Linked DNA regions of Homo sapiens: all the other regions are linked to region 3. The links are contacts of gene promoters, found by promoter capture Hi-C in blood cells and fetal thymus (Javierre and others, 2016). All regions are on one chromosome and are shown on one strand. Each heading gives the region's core, a stretch centred on a gene start or on the middle of the fragment in contact. The rest is flanking DNA. Distances are from core to core; before and after follow the strand shown. Region 1 overlaps GPAM (glycerol-3-phosphate acyltransferase, mitochondrial). Region 2 has its middle 480 kb from the start of HEAT2. Region 3 holds the start of SMNDC1 (survival motor neuron domain containing 1). Region 4 has its middle 3.7 kb from the start of GPAM. Region 5 overlaps GPAM (glycerol-3-phosphate acyltransferase, mitochondrial).

Region 1 (5,683 bases), core at 1,560-4,059, 1.9 Mb before region 3:
TGGTCAGAATGCAATGAATGCTTTTTAGGGAATAGACTTGGGGGGCATCAGTGTCCTGTGGTATTGGTCTTTTTGTATTAGTGAATTATGGGGCTATGTGGAATTTTGCTGTACTTCACTAGTCCAAAATCAGCACCACTGGGATAAAACACAATTATGTGAAATTCTTAGATTATTATATATTCTGTTTTCTTGTTAAAACCTTCAAGTACATTTATTTCATCCAGATGTTTTGACTAGTAACTGGGATGTTAGAAGTGGTTTAAGGAGGTTGAACCTCATGCTTTCTCCCCTAAGTCAGCTGGAAGATTTATAAAACTGGATTAAATGTTTCCTTTTATCTCACTGCTTATTATTCTGTGCTGTGCTCTTTTGATCTTGAGCTGTGCCTTTTAAAAATTACTGGTTTGAGTTGAAAAAATTTGTAAATATTTATGACCATTTTTGGTCCCTCCCAGAGTTTTACATATAGTTTTACTAATGGAGTCACAATACAAATTAAAAGTAAATTAAGTCTTCAAAAGAAAAATCACACATTAATTTGGTAGTAGACTTTTGGATACCTCTGAATTATATGCCTAAAGGGATAACCTTTCTTTTTCTCTCTTCTGCTAGAGTACAATTTCGTGTCCCTCATACTTTAATGGGAACATTCAAATTCACCCAGTAAATTTGAATTAAATTCTTAGTCTGCTTTCCAGATTCCTCAGAGATTCATTGATTTAGGAATATAGTATTCTTAATATTTAATAGATAGCCAGAAAGAGCACTTCTAGCTTGAGCTTATTCTTTCATGTTACCGCATTTTAAAGAGAACATACATTTTGTTTTGTGATTTACAGCTGCAGTTTAGAAAATACTGAATACAGAATGTAGTATAGAAACAATTACATTGTCTCTTTTTCCATTTTCATACCAGAGTACAAGAGGCAATTGCAGAAGTGGCTGCTGAATTAAACCCTGATGGTTCTGCCCAGCAGCAATCAAAAGCCGTTAACAAAGTGAAAAAGAAAGCTAAAAGGATTCTTCAAGAAATGGTTGCCACTGTCTCACCGGCAATGATCAGGTATTAAAAGGCAAGGCAGAAAGCTTTCAATCACAGCCATGCTGATTTGAGCAAATAAGACTGAATTATTGAACTTTCCTAGCACAGTTCTCTTTGTCCAAAAGATGTTTTAATGAATCCTGATATTAAATTAAACTCTTCTTATATTCTTATTCAGCTTTCGTGCAAAGTAGCACTGTGGTAGGCTTGAAGGTGCCTTCATATCTGTTAATTGATAGCAGCCAATGTATTACTACTAACATCTGCTCACCTAGACTGCTTGTGAATCAACTTTCACGTATCTGAGTCATAAAAGGAGTGGTTTGTGTACATCAGAGGGATCATTCTGCTCACTAAATATTCATTCGCCTTGGTCATTTGCTTCTGCAGTATAAAATGTTATTAGAGTGAACTATGACTGTAGTCTATAATAAATGGATACTTCTGTAAGTAGTATATATATATATAAAATTAGCTCTAGTTCAGCAATTCAGACATACGTGCATGCATGTGCACACACACTAAGTCATTTACAAGTACTTTGAGGTTGTAGGTCCATAAATTTAAGTAGACAGAAGTCAACTGTATGTGCTTGTATGTAAAAATAACGTGTGTTCATTTATGTTGTTTTTTTTGTTTGTACTTTGTTTCAGACTGACTGGGTGGGTGCTGCTAAAACTGTTCAACAGCTTCTTTTGGAACATTCAAATTCACAAAGGTCAACTTGAGATGGTTAAAGCTGCAACTGAGGCAAGAATTTCTGTGAATCTATTACCCCATTTTCCCCTCAATTGTAGAGTGGTTTTAGGGTTCTTGTGGAAATGTTTTCTTGTGTACTGTGATGTATTTCAACCCATTTGGAAGATTTCCCTCATTTATGATAACTTCAATAGCTGTGTATTTGGGGAGGAGAAATGAGATACAGGAGTACTTACTAGCAATATGCAGGATTCCTTTTGTAAGTTACCTTGCAACAACCCTGAAAATCTGGTAGAACAATCCCTATTTTGTAGATGAAGCAATAGAGACACAGATAGATAAATAGGTTGTCTCAAGTGGCAGATAATAAGTGACTTGCCCTGGATTTCAAATCAAACCAAGCCTGACTCCAAAACCTGTGCTCTTTTTATATCAGTGGAGCTGCTTCTCAGAAAGGGTATAGGTCAACTGGAACTCTTGATTGCTCTTCTTCCCCCAACTTATTTCTGTTGTTATAGTTGCTCTTTTTCTTTTTAGCTCAGAAAGTATTACATTGAAGGAAGTTCCTATTATTGGAAAATGTTTTTAAAGAGTGAGTCACTGATTAGCCAGTGTTTGAGTGACTCTAGCCAAATATGCAGTTGCAAAGTGTGATTGAATTTTACATTTGAGTTTTAAATTTGGCATTTTTCCCTTTGCTAGACGAATTTGCCGCTTCTGTTTCTACCAGTTCATAGATCCCATATTGACTATCTGCTGCTCACTTTCATTCTCTTCTGCCATAACATCAAAGCACCATACATTGCTTCAGGCAATAATCTCAACATCCCAATCTTCAGGTAAGATGAGCTTATTTTGGAATTTAAGGAATTAAAAAGATTATGTTTTGAATTTTAATTTTTTAAATTATAGCTTTCGATATGTTATTGTAAAGATGACATTAGCCTTTTTTCTTTTATTATAAAAGTGATACATAGTTATTGTGTAAAATTTGGAGAGTGCAAAAATGCATTAAGACTATCATCATTATTTATATATTTTATATGGGATACTTGGTGAACTGTGACTACCTAAACTTTATGGGCATTGTTTATCAAATAGATAAAAGGCAATTAGAAAGGCAAGATAGCAAATTACCATACCAGGCTCAGCAGTAGGGAGTTGTTTGGTGGAGGAGGGGGCAGTGAAGTGGGAGAAGGGTTAGTGATATAAAGACAACCATACCTGTTACTTTGACCTCATAATTTAGTAGAGCTAGAACCACTTAAAAAGTACAATATCATGTGAAAGGTATGTTTTAGAGGTTTTCACCTTTTGAAAGGTTTTTTAGAGGTTTTCCTCAATGCGTTCCATTCAGGGGAAATAGTATGTGCAAATGCGGAGAGATACAGGAGCATGGTATGGTTGGGAAGTGATGGACAATTGGGTAAGGTGGGAATATGGGATGCATTAGGAAGGATCAGAGACTGGAGGTGGTAGCTGTGTAGGTAGTGAAAGCTGGATCAAAACAATTTCTAAGCCAAGAGATTAGAGTCTGTCCTGTACTTGAGAAATGACATGTTCAGGTTTGTATTTTGAAAGGTCATTCTGGATTAGAAAGAATGAAATCAATTCTGCTTCCATTAGGATAGTTCAGGCAGAAGATAATGGAGGTTTAAATTGTAGTATTGTTTTTGGACAGGAGGGCATAGATTTAAAAAGTACTTAGTAGCTCGAATTTAAAGACCCAGTGCTAGTCCCTATGGGGGCTCAATAGAGGGGGAGAGGAAGGAGCAAGATTCCCAGGTGTTTACCACCTAGGAAACTGGGTAGGTGGTAGGTCTGATCACCAACAAAGAATTGGTGAGGAACTGGTTGAGCTGGTTTGGGAAATTAAAAGTTTCAAACCTGAAAGGACAAAGCATCTCTAAGGTCAGCTCTGTGGGTAGAGAGTGGATAAAAGGAGCATGAATTTAGAAAGAGACTGGAAGGAAAGTGGGCTGGCAGGTTGTGCAGGTGGAGCTTCACAAGATGGCCTTCGTCACCTTTGTGTGCTGTGTCCTCAGTATCACAGTCTAAGGAGCTCCTTCTTAATCCCTTGGTTCAGAGTTCTATAGGCTTTCAGAGTTCTGTAGCTAACCAGACTCTTGTGACCCAACTGAAGAGAAGCCATGGATTCATGCAGTCAGTGATATTTATCCAGCTGTGCTTTAGACAAGAGAGAACAAAATATATAGTCCTTGCCTTCACATAGCTTAATGGATAATGTAGACAGACAGCTAGCTGTAATAGCGTGTGATATGATTCTACAGGGTAGATGTGCTTTTCCAGGAATTAGAATATCTGTGTTTGCTCTCCAGGGGACCTCTCTCCAGGAACAAGGAACCGGGAAACTGAATTAGAAAGTCATCAGGAAGTTTCTGGTGGGCACAGACTTAGAGGGAAGAGGACTATTCCACTGGGGCTCTAGAGAAGCCTTGCTTCTCTTGTAATTAGAATATTTCCTATACCCATTTCCTTCACATTTGGTTCTCAATTAGGATTTCTTGGAACTGCTTAATAAACACTGATAATTTTTTGTAATCCAACTTCCCTTTCATGGACTCTATGCCAGTGACTGTGTAGCTCACCTGTCCTTCAGACACAGCAGGCTGTAGTTAGCCCAGCCTGTTTTTGTGCAGCTTTCTTTTGTTACATGACAGTCTACCCATTCACAAACCACTTCTCAGGTGTTATTTTTGTGGATGGCTCATCTCATTCATTTTATTCTGCAGAGTTTTACTCTCAAAGAGTGATACTAAGCTTTGGCAACACCTTACTGTGGCCTCCTTCTATTTACTGTAGAGCAGTGGTCCCCAACCTTTTTGGCATCAGGGACCAGTTTCATGGAAGACAATTTCCACAGACCATGGGGGTGGGGAGGATGGTTTTGGGATGATTCAAGCATGTTACATTTATTGTGCACTTTATTTCTATTATTATTACTTTGTAATATATAAAGAAATAATTATACAACTCATCATAATGTAGAATCACTAGACGGTCCCAACTGGGGGTGATAGGAGACAGTGACAGATCATCAGGCATTAGATTCTCATAAGGAATGCACAACCTAGATCCCTCATGGGCAGATGTGCAGTTCACAATAGGATTTGCGCTCCTATCCTATGAGAATCTAATGCTGTTGCTGATCTGACAGGAGGCGGAGCTCAGAGGGTAATGCAAGTGATGGGGAATGGCTGTAAATATAGATGAAGCTTTGCTTGCTTGCCTGCCACTCATCTCCTGCTGTGTGGCCCGGTTCCTAACAGGCCGGGGACCGGTATTGGTCCGTGGCCCCGGGGTTTGGGACCACTGCTGTAGAGGATACCAAAAATATATATTAATGTTTATGTTAGTATCACTCTACTTGAAAAGAATAGGAGGCTGTGAGTTTGGAAAGATTGACTTAGACAGTTTCAACTTCATATCAAAATTAGTGTTGTAGAAAGAGACATAGGGTTAGGAAAAGAATCGTTTTATGCCTGTGTATGTGCAAATGAAGCACATTTTTGTTTCATGTTTTGGAAAGATGGTTATGCTTGGTTTCAGTTGGATAAAATTGTTTTTGTCTCACAAGGATCCTCTGTAAACAATAATTATTTGAGAAAATTTCCCCCAAGGAGCTTTCGTAATAAACATCATATTCATTTTGTAGTAAACATGCCATGCGCAAATTTCAGAATGTCTAAGGGTCAGTGTCTTGAGACCCTGGGCAGGATTTTAAAATTTAGAAGTGTTCTATAATCCTCTTAAAATCTATACTATCATTTTTACGGGTAATATGTCATGCAAACTCCTTTTGGCTTGGAACAGATATAATAGAGGCTCATTATACACAGTGATATCCCAAAGACTGATGAACAATGTAAATGACTGAAACATGTCGATAATATGGAAAATGAAAAAAATGCCTGCATT
Region 2 (4,942 bases), core at 909-3,408, 1.3 Mb before region 3:
CTCATTGGTGGACATGTGATGACCCCCCAGCAGCCCAGGCTTGTACATCCTTATGGTAATCAAATGCTATAAATCGCCCTGAGTCACCTTAGGGTTCATTACAGTTGGGTTCATTACACTCACCCTACAGTAATCAAATGCTGTAAGCTTTCTCAGCTGCCCTAGAGTTCACTCTGATTCGATTAACCTAGGTAACATCATCAATCTTTGAACCAGCCACTGTGATCAAGCAGATGGAATATACTCATTCTCCAAGCATGGATCATATGACTACCCTTTAAAATGAAATGGGTATGAGGTTAGCTGATCAGCACAACCCAAACCACATGGACAGAAAATTCGGAATGGATTATTCCCCAAAGGAAAACCAGGTTGCCAGATAGAAAAATGGGCATTGGACAAAAATAGTCAATGTCCATTACTAATATCACAGAACATCCAAGGACCCTTGCAGAGCATCTGTCCCCATTCTTACTCTTGCCAACTCGTCTTGATCCACTATGCCTTCTTCTGGGGACTTGAATACACTGAGCTTCATCCCACCTAAAGTTCTCTTTCGTTGCATCAGGCAACTCTGTATTTCCTAACATGCCCTTCACTTTCATGCCTCTAAGCTCTTACTCTTGCTCTTCCCTTCACTTGTCCATCTTAGGTGTGGTTCTCTCCATCTTTCAAGAACCCACTCAGTTATTGTGTCTCTTCTCCCAACCTAAACAGACTTCGTTGCTCCCTCCTCTGTTTCTCATAGCTCAACTAGAATAGCTGTCCAGTTGTGCGCCAGTTAGGTGTTTATGTATTAGTTTTCCCAGCTAGTCTGCAAGCTCTTTGAGAGTCTGAGCTGTGTCTTTTGTGTCTTTATGTAAATGATTGGAAAAGTCATATCAAAATAATGCTCTAAGAAGTTTTCTTATAGAAGTAACAATTTTTAAAATTACCTTAATAAGCACTACTGGAGTAAGTGGGCTAAGTGCTTTATATATATATATATATATATATATATATATATATATATATATATATATATATATATATATATATATAGCTTCGCTTATGTCTTACAAAAATCCTATAAGGTAGGTACTATGTACTATTCTTCTGTTCTACAGATGAGAAAAACCGAGGCTCAAAGAAGTTATGCAACTTGCCTATGGTTACGCAGCTAATAAGTGCCCAAGCTGAAATCTGAATCCAGATTTGCTTGATTTTAAAGTCTGAGGTATTAGCCATTGTGCAAACCGTCTCTTAGCCAGTAACTGTGTTTGCAAATGGGTAGTTATTCAGATACCAATGGATGCACTGAAGACTTCTCTACTCTTCCCCACCCCATCCTATCCCCACCAGAAATAAATTCTGCTTTCTCAATATGAAATTTTCTAGACCATTAGCTTAAATCTACTGTGCCAGTTTTTTAAGAACCTTTATTCCTGACTTTGCAATTGACTGATTCCAAGTATGCTGATCCACTAAGGAGCACCCTGTCCCAAATGAAATGGAATAGTTCTTTCTATAATAAAAGTTCACACTAAAGTTGACAAGATATTCAAAATGCCTGCCCTTCATAGAGGCTATATTTGTTATGTAAGCAAGGCAGTCTGACTTGTAACCAGTAGGTGGCACTAGACTTTCCCCTCCCGGCTATGGCTGTAACTGGTTATGGAGTTGTTCTGTTACTAAGCGGCGGCTGAAAGGGACCCATGGAATGCAGTTGCATGGCTTCCTATCAGTGAAATCATTCTGGATAGAGCAGGGTTCTTCCCCCAGCTTGCACTCAGCCTTGTCCTAGGCGTAGAGCAGGGTCATATGGATTAAATACCGGTTCTTAGGTGCACAAAGAAAAATGCAACCAGTCCAAGCGTGGCAATCTCCTTAGGCCACCCTTCCAGCTGCTGGCTCTTTGGCACTGTGATTTGTCTAAAGCTGATGGTGGGGGAGGTGAACATACAGGTACATTGCAAATCATTAGGAGGAAAAGTACTTCATACTCAGAATCTGGACTGGAGTGGTAGGCTGTGCCAGGAAATGCTTTTCTCTGCACAGTTAGGGCAACTAAATGCCTTGATTAGGGACAATGTCTAGCCACTCAATCAACATTTCCTAAATCTCTTCTAGTAATTCAAATCATTCTGGAAGCTCAAAAGGATATGAAGATGGAAAAAGCATAGTTCCTGTATTCCAGGAGCTTACCATCTACTAATAATGAATCTAATATCCATTGATTCAGCCAGTACTGATTGGGCACCTATTGAGAAATGGGGAATAGAGTGTTAGATCACACTGCCTGGATAGAGCTTACAGCCTAGTGGAGAATATAGACATTAAGCAAGTAATAACACATTACTAGTATAATAAATACCATGGTAATAAAGTAACAAGACATCCTTGCTATGAGGACATATAGCAAGGAGGTCTGGAGGCGTGTGAGTCATACAAGGCCTTCTAGAAGAGATGATTATAAGGGGATATCCAAAGAGGAGCTGGAATTAAGTGGGCAGAATGGAGAAGGGAGAGGAGAAGAATGAGAATCATGTCAGGTAGAGGGAAGAGCATGTGATAACCCAGAGGCAGGGTGGAATGAGGTACTTTTAAAGAACTAAAAAAAAGTCTGTGAGGCTAGAGCTGGGTGAGCAATAAGAAAAGTTGTAGAAGATGGGGCTAAAAGGATTGATAGTCAGGACCAGATGATGCAGAGCCTTGTATACCATGTTGAGGAATTTAAAATGTATGCAAGAGCAATGAGGAAGCCCTGATAGATTTGAAAAAGATTGGTGTTATGACATCATATGTTCATTTATTTATCTAATAATATTTATTGCATGCCTACTCTGTGCCAGTGTATCAGGTGCTAGAAACTTTAATAGAGATGTAAATTATAATTTAAAATTTTAAAAAGTAATTGATTCAGAAAGATGGGAGGCAGGAAAGTTTTCTTAGAATGAAAAATGTATTCATGCAACAAAAAGTTTTGGGCACCCTGGCATATCTCAGGATCTGTTCTAGGCCCTGGAGATTCAATGGTGAATTATACCCAGTCCTCATCACAAGGAATATTTATTGTGTGCATTGAAATTCATGGCAGGAGGTATAGCATGTAGGAGATGAAAGGGAAAAATCAGTCAACTGAAAGATCTGCTCTGGCAGACACTGAGAGTGTGGCACGGTGGAAGCTAATAGTAACCAGGATCCAGCACATTAGTGTTTACACTTTCATGTTCATGATCCCAGTTTTCAAAAACCGACTGTGTCCCACTAAAAGGAACTAGGAATCCATGGAAGAATGACTAATTCCAGATCTGAGACAGGAAATGCATAAGATGAGCATTGGCCATCTTTTTATGCAGATAGCAAAGATGTAGTCAAAGATGAATGGAATTACATCAAAAGGACATCGAAACAGTTTGAAGGGTCACTCATTGACCAAAGATGGGACAATTTGAACATCAGAACAAATTAACTGAGGAACACCTCTGTGAATTTACAAAAATATACATGTTTATAATAATAGTTTTTTTAAAAAGATAGCCCTTAACCCCCCAAATTAAAAAAGACTCATTGGTCACATTGGAAGTAACCTCACTCTGAAAATTAAAGGGAAATAATTAAACATTTATTTTTTCTTTCTTGGATAAGCAGTATTTCAATATGACCAAGTAGCCCTAGTTGACGAAGAAAACTACTTCTTTATAGAGGAATTCCACCTAATAAATGTAAAGGGTTGAAGAAGTGACAGAATTAGAACATTATCATTTTGCAACTTATAATAAGAATCAATAATTTAGGCAAAGATTTTCAATGAATGAAGACATTTTTAAAAATGAATGGAGAATTTTTCCATGAAAGGTCAGGCTTTTACCATTTGAACCCACTGATTAATTTAAGTAATACTTATTCTAGTGAATAAACCAGAAATATTTACCACTTGAAGGAAGATAAAATACATGGCATCCCGTATGATGTAATTTTGGGAAGAAAGGTCAAACATGACTATAATGGAACCCTCAGAGAAAAAGTGTTGTTATTAACAAACATGAAGTTTACAGAAACAAATTAAAAGACAGTAGAATGAAAAAGTAAAATGATGAGGAAGGCACTGCTCTATATGAAAAGATTCTAGGAGACATAACCAAATGCAATGTGTAATCCTATTTGGATACTGTTTTGAACAAGCTTCCTATAAAATGAAATTTTTGTTACAATCAGGAAATGTGAATATAATGGATAATTAGACAAATCACAGAATTATTGTTAATTTGACTAGAGTTGATGATGGCATTGTGGTTATATATGAAAATGTCTGTATTTTATAGAAATGCATACTGAAGTATAGAGTGGTTAAATGACATGAGTTCTGAGATTTGCTTAAAAACACTTAGCCAAGAAAGGAAGGCATAATGTCTGATACTGGTGTGGCAAAATCTAGGAAACTGTTGAATCTGGGTGTAGTATATAGGTGTTCTCTGTACTATACATGTTTGAAATTATTCATAAAAAACCATGACTGTGGCATTGTGAGGTAAGTAAGGCAGAGTATGCTCCAAACACCCATGATTAGAAGTCTTACATCTGAAGCACGTGTATTGGTGTGAGGTCATGTAGCTAATAAGAAACAGGACTATGACTGGAACTCTAATTCCAAGTCTAGCACTCTTTCCATAACAGCTCTCACTTTGCTTTTCTAGAGTGCATTCACAAGTCACCCTCTTTGGCTCTTTGGCTCACGAGATGGCTCTAGCATTAGAAGAAGGCAGACAGCATTTTGTTCCTTACATTTTGCCCATTTCCCTAGAACTGGAAAAGAGGGCTGTGGTTTGTCAATAGGCTCCTGGAGGGAGGTGGTTTCCAACTGCTGAGTAGACGAATGACCAGGCACTAGTAAAAGGTGTGTTCACTGGCTAAAAGTTAGACCAAGCCCTGGCTTCTGGCCTTTCCTAAGCCACAGGCAAAT
Region 3 (5,343 bases), core at 790-3,289:
ATAAACATGATTAAGTTTGAATGCAAATGTTTTAAGAAAAATCAGACACTGAAAGTAAATTTTGACACTTCAAAGGAAATAGTAATTCAGAAAGCCTATTTGAAGTATTGCTCTTAGTTTTGTCTGCTCCAGTTTTGTCTGGAGCAACACCGCATACAATTGTGAAAATTAAATGAACCTGTGTAAAGTGCTTAGAATGGTATCTGGCACATACAAACTGTTATTTCTTTGTGAAAATTAAAATTCAATATAGCTTTTCTTTATAAATGAATGTTGCATAGATAAAAACAATCCTAAAAACAATCCTGAAAAAATTATTAAGATGGTATAGAAATCTATGATGGAACTTATAATGAATATTTGCCTATTTTCTGATCTATGGGGTTCAGGAAAAGTTCTCATTTAAGAGATTTTTACACAATAAGGTTGACTTTATATTCAAGGAAGTTCCTCCTCGCATCGGTTCTTAAAACACACAATTACAATAACAGAAGTTCTCTAAAACTACATTTTATTTTAAACGAATATTTATTTAAAAGCACATGCTTTCTGTTTTGTCTGCCTTCTTAATTCTAGCTACACACTGCTGCCCTCTGCTGCAATTTCAATCTTTCACACTCACAAACCCGACCTAGTTTCCATCTATACAGGTTATCTGACTCACTGCAAGGGTTATGTGTGTGTGTGTAGAGAACAAAAGGGAAGGCTCCTTGAAAAGAAAACTAGGAACTAAAGATGTTGGCACAGTTCAAAAGAGCCCATCTGAGAAGTGGGCCTTTTTTTTTTTTTTTGAGACGGAGTTTCACTCTTGCTGCCCAGGCTGGAGTGCAATGGCACGATCTCGGCTCACCGCAACCGCCGCCTCCAGGTTCAAGCGATTCTCCTGCCTCAGCCACCCGAGCAGCTGGGATTACAGGAATGCACCAACATGCTCGGCTTTTTGTTGTTGTTGTTGTTGTTGGTTTTTTTTTTTTGTATTTTTAGTAGAGACGGGGTTTCTCCACGTGGTCGAGCTGGTCTCGAACTCCTGACCTCAGGTGATCCGCGAGAAGTGGGCCTTTTTATGGATCCAGCAACAAACTCCCAACCTCCCAGGAAAGGTTGCTTCCTGTCATCTATATAAAACTTTGTGTCTCAGGCCTTTATTGCTTTTTTAATTGAAATAAATTATATATATATGGTTTAAAAAAAAAAGAAAAGGAAAAAGGGTAAACAGCAAAGAGGGTAATCAATAAAACATTTGGCTTCCACTCCAAACCTCTGAACAGTTTTGTGTATCCGTCCAGAAAGCGTATATATTATTACAAACATACACAAGGGGCATTTCTTTTTGAACACAAATGTGAGTATTCCTACCACTCTTTACCATTCTAGACTAACTTGGACGTTGTTCCCTATCAGGCGAGATTAACCCAACTAAATTAAAACCAAGTAGGTTTTAACAAAACAGATTTTAAAGAAATCAATCTTCTCTCCAATAGGTTATTTCTGTCACGATTTAATTAGCTTTCTGTTACTACTAAGGCTTGTATCATATAAAGTAGTGGTTCTCAGGCTGGGCGCGGTGGCTCACGCCTGTAATCCTAGCATTTTGGGATGCCGATGCAGGAGGATAGCTTGAGCCCAGGAGCTGGAGACCAGCCAGGGCAACGTAAAGAGAGCCCCCACCAACACCCCCCGCCACCCACCACCACCGCCCCGGAAAAGCAGTGGTTCTCAAACGTCAGCGGACATTGGTATCATCTGGTGAGCTTATTAAAACAAGAGTCTCTGGATTCAGGAGGTCTGGGGTGGGGCTTGAGAATTTGCATTTCCAATAAATTCCAAGCCGGAACTCCAGGAAGATAACCTGCATTCCGCGCCTGGCGAAGCCCAGCTACGCCATTTCCTTCCTAGGCCCCGCCTACTTCGTGTCCCTGACAGCCAGGGACTGGCTAGAGGGCGCGCGGAGTCACGTGAGTCGAGCGACCTCGCGCGAGAGTTTGTATTTCTCGCGAGACTTCACCGTCTCTGTCTTTTCCTCCTTCCAGTGCCCGGCGTTCCTCCCTTCCCCCTCGCCGCCGACCGAGTTCTTCCTTTTCAGACCGGGTCGCCTTGCTGTCGTCGCGGTGATTTTCCTGCTACTGCTACTGCTGCTGCTGCCACCGCCACTACCACTGGGCTCATTTGCCCCGACCCCTTCCCGCCGCCCCGCCCCCAGCCCCACACAAGGTAACAACCCCCCTGAGGGAGAGAGTAAGGCCTGGCCGGGCCCGGGTCCCTCCCGAGGTGAAGCGGAGGCCCAAGGCTGAGGAGCCCGCCTCGCCGGAGACGCCCAGGCGCTGGCCCTGGATCCCGGAGCCACGGCCGTCTCTCAGCCAGAGCTGAGCCTCGGCGGCCCGGCCGGCGCTGGCCTCCGTGCGGCGGCGGCAAACACGGCCCGCAGGGGACCGGGTCGGGTGGGGCTGGGCGCCGCGCGGCTCCCTGTGGAGCCTGCCTGTTGGAGCGCGGCGGGGCTCCGGCGGTGGTCTTGGAGCTGGCGTGTGGATTTCCACGTCCGAATGATCGAGTTGTGGCGGGCTTTGAGGTGCTGCGTGGCGGGGAGGAGAGCAGCCTGGGTCGCTGTAACTCTTAGGGGGCCTTTGCAGGCTCCCAGCCTTTGGTTGGACGGGAATTTTACGAAGGAGAAGGGTCCTCGGAAACGTGGTACATTTGCTTATAAACCATCAAAAAAGGTTAATTGGTATCTTATTTTCAGGAAAATGACTGAGCTGGATTTGGCGAAAGGCACATTCGTTAGAATGCCTAAATGGGAGAGTACCTGTGCTGTTCTTTTTGCTGAAGATAATGCACCGATAAATATTTAAGCGACTGGGCGAAAGATTTTTGTTTTGGAGAGGCACTTTTAAATACACTCTTAATTGAATAGTTCAAGTAAAGATCGTAGTTTGTGTAGTTAATTTAAAAACGCACTTGTTTGGCTTTGGAAGCATACTGTAGTGCTTAAAAATAAGTATTTGGATTGTTTTTGAAAGTTTCGACTTTTCCAACAGAGTAGTGCTTTTTAAAAAGATAACACTGATTATTGAGCCGAATTCAGCACCTACCCTGTGGATAGGAGTTAAAAGAAAATTAGAAATTTCTTTGTATCTGTATGCTTTTTTAAAGTATGGAATGTATCTCAAGTTTATAATCCTCAGAATCTGTTGCCTTTAAGTTTGTGGTTTAGCTGAAGTCTAAACTGAGAGTAAAGGTAATGGTGGTAAATTAAGCTGCAGTGTTAGAAGGAGTTAGAGGCAAAAACTGGTAATTCAGGCAGACAGGGGAGTTAGTTTTTTATGCCTTGATTTTTGGTTTAGTTTTCATGGTCTAACCCTTTTTATTTTCCCTAGATGTCAGAGGATTTAGCAAAGCAGCTGGCAAGCTACAAAGCTCAGCTCCAGCAAGTTGAAGCTGCATTATCTGGAAATGGAGAAAATGAAGATTTGCTAAAATTGAAGAAAGATTTACAAGTAAGTATGGGTAGACAATTGTACTTTTTCTCTGTTTTTCAAATTATTGCTTGAATCCCTAAGTACCCAAAGCGCCTTTTGAGGGGTTACACCCCACCCTATGTATATATGTAAATTCTGTAGGTACCATTGCTTGTAGAAGTAGGGTTGCTTCCCCAGTTCTCAGGTTTCTGTACATCAGAGTGAAATATTGTTCTTTGTTATATAAATCTTGTGTGCTTACATAATTTTTAAAAACTAAAGTTGATAGAAATTTCCAAGTCTGTCAGATTTTCAAGACGAGAGGTACATGTAACTTCACAATGAAAAACGCTTTTAGTTTTTAAGACCTGGCAAATGAAATTTAGTTCAAAAAGTAACAAAGATTGAAGGAGAAAAATAGAACCTTAAGATTCTTTTTAATACCACAAGATTCTTTGAAAATGCGTGCCTTTTTTTTTTCCCCAAAGCTAGTGGATTACATTTTGTATTGAAAACACACCACAAAAATGCCTAAAGAGAGACAAGTGCTTTGTATAATTGTTACATAGATGTTCAGACTTAAGGCTAGGTTTTACAGTAAAGTTGTTGACACTTGTGGAAATTGAACTATGTGGTGAAAAGGAGATCTTTGTCATGGTAGAGTTTAGTAGATAATGAAACCTTTTTTTGAAAACCTGCACTGGGATTTCAAGACAAACATAGAGCCATCATAGTAAATACCTTTTGTGTTTCAGGACACCAGACTGATTCAGAAAAATGCCATATATAATTTGCAAATATATATGACTTTTAAGAGCTTCCTTTAAATTCTGAACCTGATTTTTAAAAAGTTTCAAGGGTGTTTTGATTAGAGATTGCTTTACCGACTGAGTACTAAACTCAAATCTGTATCCTGTCTAAAAATTCATTCCCTCCCTTTATTATCCCACTGCCCGTTAAAACTATTACTATTTTAGGGATATCAGAACTGCAAACAAACTTAACGGAAATAGGGTCCGGATTTGGGATTCTGGAACTGCTTATCTGGGCGTAATTAAGATGAGTTGAATACTTTCAAGTTCTACATTTAGAATAAAATTGCAGTAGTATGTTATTTTTAAACACACACAAACTATCTGGGTTAATTTCAATATGAACAAGACCCCTCTTCGATACGTAGAAGCCAGGCCTGTGGGCTTCAGGGTGCCAGTCAATACAAAAAAGATGTTTTGGGAGCAGTTTCTCCCACTCCCAGGCCCTTAAGTGAGAAATAACCCAGTGGTTTGCCACCTGTCCATTTGATTTGCTCATATGTTGTGAGTATACATTGAAGATGAGGCAACAGAGGCACACCGACCTCTTATTTTCTTACACTCTGTAAAGTGCTTTCTGTTTGCCCCAAAGAGAGATGCCTTGACTACCTTTACCAACTTAAGCAGTCCTTTTTTAGGAAAAGAAAACACTGGGTGCCAATGTTTTGTATATTGCTTCTTGGGCAGTGGGAGGAGGGGTATTTGTTGAACTGGTTGGGTTGGGGAAGTTGGGAGTGGAGTTAGAAATAGCATTATCATCAGGTCTTTTTAATATTTCTAGAATAATTCCTCATTAGAGTCTGAGCAGAACTGCCTTACCATGTCATGATCATCATAGTGGAAAGTACTGTAGGGGGAAACCATTGTGATAAACACTGTAGTAAGCCCCTAAAAGGCTTGCTTGCAGGGGTTCAGTTAATAATGACCTGGAAATCATTTTTCTGTAAAGTATCCTCTTTTCTATAACCATTTAAAACAGCACTGTCCAGTAGAACTTTCTGTGATGATGGAAATGTTCTATATCTGCTATTCAGTACCATAGCCACTAGCCACATTTGGTTGGATATTTGAAATACAGC
Region 4 (5,622 bases), core at 741-3,240, 1.9 Mb before region 3:
GCATGCGATACACTGGTAGGGACTATTTCTGGATATTTTCTCTCTCTTTTATTATTTTTTTAGAATGTTTGAGTCATTCTGGCAATGAGATCCAGGCTCAAATATGATTAGAAATATATTTATTTATTTGCAGCTATTTAATTGTGCATATTTTATTTTATCCAATGAAATCTTGAATTTCTAAAAACAGGGACTAGAGTGTATCCTCCTTACAGAGTATAGGTAGGCAGTAAAAAAGTTTTTGATTAATTGTTTAAATAAACTGGGCTTGGGATGTGTTGCAGTAGGGGTCTAAGCTGCCCATTTCATTAAAATGAACCTACATAGTGACAATCAGGAATGTTACCCGAGAGTAACAGAAGACAACATTGTAATGGCTTACACAGGTAGAGGTTTGGCAAAATCCAGAGGTGTGTGATTCGTGGTGTTGGGTTTGGATATTGAATTACGTAGCAAATGGGAACAAAACGGAAAAGGAAGCGGTGCCAGCTGTGTCCTCTTTTACTAGGAAAGAAAAACTTCAGGAACCCTCAGTTTGCCTTGCTCTCAGTTCACATTGCCCAGAACTGGGTCATGTGACCATCTTGGCTAGAAGGATAGTTGCAGTATTAGGGAACAAGATTATCATAATTGGCTTAGATACCTTGATTCATTCTTTTCTCAGAGCTAGGCAAGAGATCACCCTGAATATAATCAGAGAGTAGAAATACGTCTTGAACAGGTAGGTCTCAGTGAGTGCCCCAGATCAGCTGGAAGTAGGGAAGTGAATTCTGGAAGCCACAAGTCAATGAACTTGATGCTGATTTTTGAAACTTTTTGAAACAATGATTAAACAGGAGTAGTGTAAATATTCTAGACTATAAGCTTGAAGGGAGGAAGTGTGGTGCTGTCTTGTTCAATGCTGTCTCTACAATAGGTTGGGTGGCGTGAAGTAGATATTCTATAAATATATACTGAATAAATAAATAAACAAAAGCAGCCCAAAGAAAAGTAGGTCATAATGAGAAGAGCATGAATCCAGTAAGAATAATTCATGCCAAACTACTTCCTTTAAAAGTTCTTGATAGAACAATCATTATATTTTATATAAGGGAATTTAATAGATACTTTATCATTAGATTTTTGCAAGTCAGTTAACAATGTCCTTACAATATTCTTGTAGAGCAATGCTATTATACATGGGTAGATCTGCAGCTACTTGAACAAATGCACCCAGGGAAGTTTGGTCAACGAATCTGGATCAGTCTGAAAGGGAGCCTCTGAACAGGGACTATTAGGAAGGCAGCATGAATTATTGTCAAGAATATGAGGTTTAGTATGAGAAAGGCCTAGGTTCAAATCCCTTCTGTGCTGCTTTGTGTCTGGTTGATTTGGGCAATTTATTTAATTACTCTGAGCCCATTTTTCTTATCTGTAAATTAAGGATCATAATATCTTGCAGCATCATCATGAGAATGAGCCATGTTAAAATGTAGCAGGTATACTGGTCAATATGTAGGATGGCAGAACAAAGATTTTAAAATACCTCGAACATCTGGAAAATGGCAAAACAAAACAAAATGCAATGTACACAGAGGTACATGTGCATTACTTTCACAAACACAGGGTGTGTGCCATTTTCATAATTGGCTTAGGTATCACAATTCATTATATTTTCAGAGTTGGCCAGGAGATTGTCCTGAACAAAATCATAGAGAGGGAAACAGAGAGGGAATAGCTTCTCTGCTGGTACAATGGGTGGGACCAGCTTTTTATAGGATCTAATCAGACTCACCTTATGAAGACAGGAAATCTAACATCTGGTACACCACCCTGAAAACAAAAGGCAACTAGCTTGGGTAATGAAAGGCTGTATTACTGTGTATACAGAATTTGTAGTGCTGTCACTCTTCTTGTTCCTAATATCAATAATGTGTGTCCTCCTCTTTTTTCCTTATGAATCTGGCTAGAGGTTCATTAACTCTATGGATTTTCTCAAAAAATTAACTTTCAGTTTCAATTGTTTTTTATTTTCCTACTTAAAAATTTTTCTGCTTTCGTTGATATCTGCCCTTTATTATTTTCTGTTTTTGTTTTGCTTATTTTGGGTTTAATTTATACTTTTTTCTTAAGGCTGAATCTGAGATAAATAATTTGAGATCTTTCTTTTTTTCTAGTATAGGTGTTTTAGTGCCATAAATTTCTAAGTACTGTTTTAGCTGCATTCCTCAAAGTATGATATATTGTGTTTTCATTATCATTTAGTTCAAGGTACTTACAAATTTTCATTTTTCTTTTTTACAGCATGATTTTTTAAAAGTATGTGAGTTTCTAAATAGTTAAGGATTTTCCAAATACCTTTAAGTTAGTGGTTTCTAATTTCTACCGTGCTCAGAGTATATGTTTTATGATTTGGATCCTTATATGTGCATCAAGACTTGTTTTATGATCCAGAATATGACCTATCTTGGTGGATGTTCTGTGCACACTTGAATGTTTATTTTCCTGTTATTGGGTGGCATGTTCTATAAATGTCAATTAGATCAAGTTGGGTTGATAGTATTGTACAAGCCTTTTACATCCTTATTAATTTTTTACCCACAGTTCTATTAGTTATTGGGGGAGGGGTATTGAAATGGCTGACTACAATTGTAGATTTTTAAAATTTCTTCTTGCAATTCGATTAGTTTTTGATTTATATGTTTTGAAGTGCTGTATTAGAGGAATAAATATGTAGAATCAGTTTGTCCTCATTATGAATTGACCCTTTTATCATTATAAAATGATCCTCTATATTTCTGATAATATTCTTTGTATTGAAATTATATGATATTAATATACCCACCTATATTTCTTTTGATTAGCATTAGTATAGCATACTGTTTTCTAACCTTTTACTTTTACTTGTCTTAATATTTAAAGTGAGTTTTTAAATAGGTGGCATATCATTGGATCTTCATTTTTTTTCCAGTCTGACAATATCTGCCTTTTAATTAGGGTGATTACTTATATGAGCTTAAATCTATCATCTTGCCATGTATTTTCTCTTTATTCTATCTATTCTTTCTTTTCTCCCCCATCATTTACTGCCTTCTTTTGAATTCATTAAACATCTTAAAAATTCGACTTAAGCTTCTTTGTTGATGTGTTAACAATAACTCTTAGTTTTGCTTTCATAGTAGTTGCTTTAGGAGTTAAAGTATACATTTTTAACTTATTACAGTTTACCTTCAAGTATATTATACTGCTTGGTGCGTAAGATAAGAATCTTACAACAGAATACTTCTCCCTTCCTGGACTTTGTGCTGTTGTCATCATACATTTTATTTGTACATGTTATAAACCCCACAAAATATTGTTTTTGTTTGTGCATTAAGCAATCATGTTTTAAAAGAGTTTTAATGGCTGACATGGTGGCTCACTCTTATAATCCCAGCACTTTGGGAGGTCGAGGCAGGCGCATCACTTGAGGTCAGGAGATCGAGACCGGCCTGGGCAATATGGTGAAACCCCAACTCTACTAAACATACAGAAAAAAATTAGCTGGGCGTTGTGGCGGGTGCCTGTAATCCCAGCTACTCGGGAGGCTGAGGCATGAAAATTGCTTGAACCTGTGAGGAGGAGGTTTCAGTGAGCTGAGATCACGCCACTGCACCACTGCACTCCAGCCTGGGTGACAGAGCGAGATTCCATCTCAAAAATAAAATAAAATAAATTAAAATAAAAGGGTTTAAAAAATAAGAAAAATTATTTACCTACGTATTTGTGGTTTCTTAAGCTCTTAATTCCTTTGCATAGATTCAGAATTCCATCTGACAGCATTTTTTTTTTGCCTGAAAGACTTTCTTTAACATTGCTTATAGAACGGTCCTGCTGGTGATGAATTCTTTTGGCAATTCGATGTCAAAATATGTTTTTATTTTATTTTTTTGATATATATAAAAATATATAAAATGTACATACCATATATTAATATAAAAAGAACTCTTGATTGATAGGTTCTTCATTCAGTACTTCAGATGCTGCTCCACCATCTTCTGGTTTGCATTTTTCTGATGTGAAATCTGCTGTCATTCTTATCTTTGTTCCTCTGTACAGTAATGTCTTTTTTTTTCTCTCTGATAGCTTTTAAGATTTTCTCTTTATCAGTGGCTTTAGGCATTTTGATTGTGATGTTTCTTGGTATGGTTTTCTTCATGTTTCTACTGAGTTTGTTGAGCTTTTTGGGTTTATAAGTTTATAGTTTTGGTCAAATTTGGAAAGTTTTCATCAATTATTCTTTCAAATGCTTTTTTCTGTCCTCCCTAATCTATTCTCACCTCATATTTCTCATTTTCTTCAGGGACTACAATTGCATGTATACTAGGCTCACTGATACTCTACTTTTACTTTCAGTATTTTTCTTCCCTTAGTGTTTCATTTTGGATAGTTTCTATCACAATGCTTTCAAGTTTTTTTTTGTTTGTTTGTTTTTGTTTTTGAGACAGAGTCTCGCTCTGTCACCCAAGCTGGAGTGCAGTGGCACAATCTTGGCTCACTGCAAGCTCTGCCTCCTGGGTTCACGCCATTCTCCTGCCTCAGCCTCCCGTCAGGTTTTTTACTGTTTCTTTTTTAGTAATGTCTAACCTATTAATCCTGTGTGTGTGTGTGTGTGTGTGTGTGTGTGTGTGTGTGTGTGTGTCTGTGTGTGTGTGTTAGGGTGTTAAAAATCTTAGATGTGGTTTTATTATCTCCTAGATGTTTGGTTTGTGTCTTTTTTTTTTTTAAAGATTTTTCACATCTCTACTTCCCATGCTCAGTTTATTTTTTCTACTTGTTGAAAACATTGAATACAGTCATAATTACTTTCTTAATGTCCTTGTTCTCTTATTTTATCATCTCTGTCATTTCTGGGATGATTTCAATTGGTTGATTTTTTTTTCTCATTTCCTGCTTCTTTTCGCATGCCTGATAATTCTGTTTGGATTCCAGATGTTGCAAATTTTACCTTGTTAGGTGTTGGTTATTTTTAATTTCCTGTAAATATTCTTGTGCTTTGCTCTGGGACACTTTGTTCTCAAAAACGGTTTAATCCTTTGGTGGCTGGCTTTTAAGATTTCTAAGATAGAATCAGAGTAGCTTTTACATTAGAGCTAATTTTGCCCCACTACTGAAGCAAAACCATTTGAGTTGTGAATTATGAGGTTTTCCAGTCGGGGTGCCAGGATCAGGCACTATTTCTGGTCCTGTATAATCACTGGGTATCTTTCTACTCTGCCTTGTGGGAGCAGAATTAATTTCCTACCCTGTGCAAACTTTAGTAATTGCTCTCTCTTTTCTTCATACATGATTATTTCCTGCCCTTAGGTAGCTTCCTCACACACATGCTCTAATCAGCGGAAGACTGGAGTGAGATCTGTTGTAGATCTCCACAGCTCCTTCTTTCTCTGTGTAGCTTTCTCCTTTCTGATATACAACTCACAGTTCCAGCTGCTTTGGCCTCCCTGCTCTCCCAGTTCTATCTCTTCAACTCAGGGAGTCTGCCTAGCTCTTTTTGGCTGCTCCCTCTAGTTAGTAAATCAAGGCAATCATAGGGCTCACCTCATTTGTTTTCCCTCCTCAAGGACCACTGTCCAGCACAACGTTTAAAAGCCATTGTCTTAT
Region 5 (5,475 bases), core at 1,892-4,391, 1.8 Mb before region 3:
TCACAGGTTGCCAGTGGTGGAAGTGGGGCCCCACCCTTGTCTGCTGACTTGCCCTCATTCTCTTCCTAGCTCCCCATACTTTCTTACTGTGGCTGCTGGGATTGTCATGATTTGTTGAGCGTAACCATTTGACAGGGTTTTATTCTCTCTCTTCAGCTGAGAGTGCCACATATTGTCTTGTGAAGAATGCTGTGAAAATGTTTAAGGATATTGGGGTAGGTGTCCACCATTTATGGTATAAAAGCTATCTCAACTTCTGTTCTCTTTAGATCTAGTCTGTTTGAGCTACCTTTGTGGTGGGGTGGACCCCGAGAGAAGCAGTTTCTGCTGGCTTAATGATAAAGGCATTTTTGGGAACGGGGCATGTAGGATGGGTTGGGCTATGTTGAAGGTGAAGCCCATCAGTGTAGATTTATTTGAATGTTCTGGAATTTTACTGGTTTCACATTTATTCCCAAGCTGCTATATATAACTGGTATCAATATGTTTCAAGGTGCTACAGGTTGAATATCCCTTATCCAAAATGTTGGGACCAGAAATGTTTTGGATTTCAGATTTTTTTGGGATTTTGGAATATGTGCATTAGACTTACAGGTTGAGCGTCTCTAATCCAAAACCCAAAATGCTCTGATGAGCATGTCTTTTGAGCATCATATTGATGTTCAAAATCTTTCAGATTTTGGAGTACTTCAGATTTTTGATTTTGGGATTAGGACCACAATCTTGGCTCTTAATTATTCCATATGATTTTTAGTTACTTTCTTGTATTTTTACAAGAATTTCTAGAAGTATCCTCAGGTGTCCTTTACCTTCATGATTCATGGGGAATGTAAGTTCTATAGAGATACTAGCGGCCTTTTGTGAGGGACTGTTTGTGACTTTATTCTAAGTCATTTTAGAGTATAGTTATGTTGGTTGAAATTTTAGAATATAGTTAATGTTGGTTGAACTCCATCAAAACAAAAAAAAAAAAATAGAAAAAGAAAACCTTGTTTGCATTGGAAACTCCCACCTCATGCTCACACACACCCAGGCATACATTTACTTAATGCCAGGATATGGTTTTTTGTGCCTTTACTGCCTTCTGAGGTCTAGGACACCACAGGTCAGGTTGGTAATGGAAATTTTTTTTATTTTTTATTTTTTGCCTTTAATTTAATCTAAACCTTTTCTTTAGGTTTTCAAGGAGACCAAACAAAAGAGAGTGTCTGTTTTAGAACTGAGCAGCACTTTTCTACCTCAATGCAACCGACAAAAACTTCTAGAATATATTCTGAGTTTTGTGGTGCTGTAGGTAACGTGTGGCACTGCTGGCAAATGAAGGTCATGAGATGAGTTCCTTGTAGGTACCAGCTTCTGGCTCAAGAGTTGAAGGTGCCATCGCAGGGTCAGGCCTGCCCTGTCCCGAAGTGATCTCCTGGAAGACAAGTGCCTTCTCCCTCCATGGATCTGTGATCTTCCCAGCTCTGCATCAACACAGCAGCCTGCAGATAACACTTGGGGGGACCTCAGCCTCTATTCGCAACTCATAATCCGTAGACTACAAGATGAAATCTCAATAAATTATTTTTGAGTTTATTAAAGATTGACATTTTAAGTACAACTTTTAAGGACTAATTACTGTGATGGACACAGAAATGTAGCTGTGTTCTGGAACTGAATCTTACATGGTATACTTAGTGCTGCTGGGTAATTTGTTGGTATATTATCTGGTTAGTGGTTAATGCTTCCTTTAAAAATAATTGAGTCATCCATTCACTCTTTTTCAGTTTTATCTGTCAATAGTAGCTACATTTTTAATGGGAGCACCTTTTATCCCAAAGTGCTTTATAAATTGAGTGGACTGATATATATCACACCCAGGTATCACTGTGCTGTCCTTTGCTGTCAGATTTAGAAATGTTTTTAAGAGCTATGTGAAAACAGACAATATTAGTTTAGGTCGGGAACTGAGATATTGTAATCAAATAGTTAACATCAGGAAGTTAATTTGGCTGGCAAAATTCTAGGGAAACTTGGCCAGAAAACTGGTGTTGAAGGCTTTTGCTCATATAAACAAGTGCCATTGAGTTTCAAATGACCAGCAAATATATTTAGAACCCTTCCTGTTTTATGTCTGTACCTCGTCCACCCCTCAGGTAATACCTGCCTCTCACAGGTACAGCTGTTTCTTGGAAATCCTCCAACCAAATAGCAGTTTTCCTAACTTGATTAGCTTGAGCTGACAGACTGTTAGAATACAGTTCTCTGGCCACAGCTGATGAGGGCTTTCTGTACTGCACACAGATTGTGTACTGCACCCCAGTCCAGGTGACTGGTACCCACTCGAGTTGTGCCGTGCACAACCTGTCCAGTATATGCATGTGGTGGCCCTACTGACTGGTAATGGTTAGAGGCATTTATGGATTTTTAGCTTTGAGGAAAAACCATGACTTTTAACAAATTTTTATGGGTTATATGCCTAAACCCTTATGCCACATAGTGGTAAATAATTATGAAAAATGGTCTGTTCATAATTGGTAGGTGCCTTTTGTGAGCAGGGAGCATAATTATTGGTTTATTATGGTAATTATGGTGATTTTTTAAATATCATGTAATGTTAAAACGTTTTCTAACAGTTTACTGTTGCTTATCTCCAAGATATTATGGAATTAAGAATTTTTCCAGATGAGTGTTACATAGATTCTTTGAATTTAGTATAAAAGTACTGAGAATTAAGTTTGTACTTCCATAAGCTTGGATTTTAAACACTGATAGTATCTCATGAGTAATGTGTGTTTTGGGAGAGGGAGGGATGCTGATTGATATTTCACATTGTATGAAATACCATGTTTGAAACTCATAGCAATAATGCTATGCTGTTGTGATCCCTCTCAAGTTCTGCATTTAAAATATATTTTTTCTTTATAGGAATTGATGTATACCATGAAGTCATTGTCAGTTGTAGTAGCTCTGATGTTGAATGAGATATCATGTTTTAGCATTCCATTTTACTGACTAGGGTAGAAGAACACTTTTCTTGGCTACATTTGGAGGATACCCAGGGAGTCTTGGGTGTTCCTTATCTGGGGAAGCAAACATTTCACTAGTCTCTTTTTTTCATCCTTTAAATTGTAAATTAAGGATTACTCAAGCTCACCATTATTCAAGATTGGGACTCGCTTCCCAGTCGACACTCTGCCCTGCCTGTCATTGCTGCAAAGAGCTGCTGCTTTGCCAACCTAAGCAAAGAAAATACGGCTTCTCTTGCATTATTTTCCCTTTTGGTTGGTTTGTTTTCTAGAAGTACGTTCAGATGCTTTGGGGAATGCAATGTATGATTTGCTAGCTCTCTCACCACTTAACTCACTGTGAGGATAAATATGCATGCTTTTTGTAATTAACTGGTGCTTTGAAAATCTTTTTTAAGGGAGAAAAATCTCAACCAAAGTTATGCTCATCCAGACAAGCTGACCTTTGAGTTAATTTCAGCACAACTCATTCTTCAGTGCCTCATGACTGAAAACAAAAAACAAAAAAACGAAAGCATCTTCACAATGAAGCTTCCAGATAGCACCGTTTTGCTAAAAGATACATTCTCATTGTTTTCCAACAGTGATGGCTTCCACATAAGGTTAAACAAACTAGGTGCTTGTAAATAATTTATTACAGTTTACTCTATCGCATTTCTGTAACATGAAATGCATGCCCTTCTTCAGGGGAAGACTGTGGTCAAGTTAAAAAAAAAAAACAATATTAAACAACATGAAACTGCAGTCTGTTTTTGAAAATGAGAATGTCCTAAGTGATTCAGAAGAGAGGAGGGAAGTTGTGCACTCTGAAAATGCATGAAAAACAAAGGCAAAAACTAGTGGGAAATGTGTAGAACTGTTAACTGAGATGGCTTCGAGTCTTCCTTCTGGAATCTGTTAAATTTCACAAAGTCATGAGGGTAAATGGAGAAAATATTTCTGGGATTACAATGAATGTAAGCCCAAATTGTGGAATTGCCAGTAACCTGGATGGGGAAAAGCATTTCCCATAGCACTCCATGTAATATGAGTGCTCTGTGAGATGTTCATCAGTGTTTTATAGAAATGGTGTTGCTGGGAAACCAAGTTTGCACCTGGAAACTTACAATGCACTTTAGCGCAGTAAGGGCTTGGCATCCGGTAGTGAAAAACTGTCTAACCCAGCATTGCCCAAACTATTTTGACACCAGGACCTTTTTCTCCTTTGGGATACTTATGAACCTCTCACTAATGTCCTGTGGAGAACATTTTGGGAAACACTATGTTAGATAGTTCTTTAAGGAGACAAAACGGTAATGAACAGATAGCACTGGGGCAGAATATGCATGCATTTTGTAACGTCCAGTGTGGCGTTGAATAGATGTGTATTTCCTCCCCTGCAGAAAATAAGCACAGAAAATTATAATGTAGGTGATCGGAGCTCTTTCCTTTGATAGAGAGAACAGCCCCAATGATCCTGGCTTTTTCACTGAACGTATCAGAATACATGGATGAATTGGGGTAAATAAGGTTTTAATTCAGATCTAGAAGAAAGTATTGTACGTTTGAATGCAGATTTTTATCCACAGATAGTTGTAGTGTTTAGACATGACAGGACCTATCGTTGAGGTTTCTAAGACTTACTATGGGCTGTAAACCTGTTTTTTAAAACTATTTTAGAAACCTGAGACTTGCCGTCTGGCATTTTAGTTTAATACAAACTAATGATTGCATTTGAAAGAGATTCTTGACCTTATTTCTAAACGTCTAGAGCTCTGAAATGTCTTGATGGAAGGTATTAAACTATTTGCCTGTTGTACAAAGAAATGTTAAGACTCGTGAAAAGAATTACTATAAGGTACTGTGAAATAACTGCGATTTTGTGAGCAAAACATACTTGGAAATGCTGATTGATTTTTATGCTTGTTAGTGTATTGCAAGAAACACAGAAAATGTAGTTTTGTTTTAATAAACCAAAAATTGAACATACTCTTGATGTGTTTGATTTGTATTTAAAACAGTTTCCTACATAATTCATTATACGAACAATTATTGTTTTCTGACTTTATATAGCAACTTATTAAAATGCTTAACGATACCTTACATAAATGTATGAACCTACAGTTCATGCTTTTATTATTGACCCACAGCTTTCCAAATTTGATCAAGCATTTGGAGATGTAGGTCTGCTTCTTAGCTATTGCTCTCCTTTTATTTAGTAAATATTCATATTCTAGGGAGATTCTGTGGGTTTTTGTAAAGATTTCTTTAAGCTTGGTGCTTTTTGTTATATTTTTACATATTTAAGTTTATAAAAAGTGTTTTCTCCACTAGTTTATCACAGTTGCTCAAACAATATTAGTTTACTTTTTTGACAAGAAAATTATTTCTTTTATCAGAGCACAGATTTTGTGGATTCTTTGAAAGTTCTCAAATACAGCCTGATCTCCAGAGTGTTCCTTCTAGAAACGGTGGTAAACGTGTG

What was found. The method cuts DNA at HindIII sites, captures the fragments that hold promoters and counts their contacts. A CHiCAGO score of 5 or more calls a contact.
Region 1: a contact is called between a fragment that was not itself captured here and the fragment with the promoter of SMNDC1 in region 3, in 1 of 17 cell types (naive CD4 T cells). The highest score is 5.9, in naive CD4 T cells.
Region 2: a fragment that was not itself captured here is called in contact with the fragment with the promoter of SMNDC1 in region 3 in 1 of 17 cell types (total CD4 T cells); the score reaches 6.6 in total CD4 T cells.
Region 4: a contact is called between a fragment that was not itself captured here and the fragment with the promoter of SMNDC1 in region 3, in 2 of 17 cell types (naive CD4 T cells and non-activated CD4 T cells). The highest score is 5.8, in naive CD4 T cells.
Region 5: a fragment that was not itself captured here is called in contact with the fragment with the promoter of SMNDC1 in region 3 in 1 of 17 cell types (naive CD8 T cells); the score reaches 8.5 in naive CD8 T cells.

The regions. Positions count from the first base shown.
Region 1 is chr10:112,169,082-112,174,764 of GRCh38, reverse strand. GPAM (glycerol-3-phosphate acyltransferase, mitochondrial) reads left to right here. Exons shown (of 22, transcript NM_001244949.2): 7 at 920-1,066; 8 at 1,699-1,795; 9 at 2,447-2,583. Among named protein-coding and RNA genes, the nearest start is that of GPAM, 12 kb to the left of the region's middle. The HindIII fragment of the contact is 3,436 bases long and covers 1,092-4,527 here.
Region 2 is chr10:111,595,332-111,600,273 of GRCh38, reverse strand. No RefSeq gene overlaps it. Among named protein-coding and RNA genes, the nearest start is that of HEAT2, 480 kb to the right of the region's middle. The HindIII fragment of the contact is 4,017 bases long and covers 150-4,166 here.
Region 3 is chr10:110,301,616-110,306,958 of GRCh38, reverse strand. SMNDC1 (survival motor neuron domain containing 1) reads left to right here and starts at 2,039. Exons shown (of 6, transcript NM_005871.4): 1 at 2,039-2,211; 2 at 3,372-3,491. The coding sequence starts at 3,372. RefSeq lists a silencer at 2,208-2,527. The HindIII fragment of the contact is 6,895 bases long and covers 1-5,343 here.
Region 4 is chr10:112,184,610-112,190,231 of GRCh38, reverse strand. It overlaps a transcript of GPAM not described here. Among named protein-coding and RNA genes, the nearest start is that of GPAM, 3.7 kb to the right of the region's middle. The HindIII fragment of the contact is 2,247 bases long and covers 867-3,113 here.
Region 5 is chr10:112,149,369-112,154,843 of GRCh38, reverse strand. GPAM (glycerol-3-phosphate acyltransferase, mitochondrial) reads left to right here. Exons shown (of 22, transcript NM_001244949.2): 21 at 157-215; 22 at 1,178-4,979. The coding sequence ends at 1,294. Among named protein-coding and RNA genes, the nearest start is that of GPAM, 32 kb to the left of the region's middle. The HindIII fragment of the contact is 807 bases long and covers 2,738-3,544 here.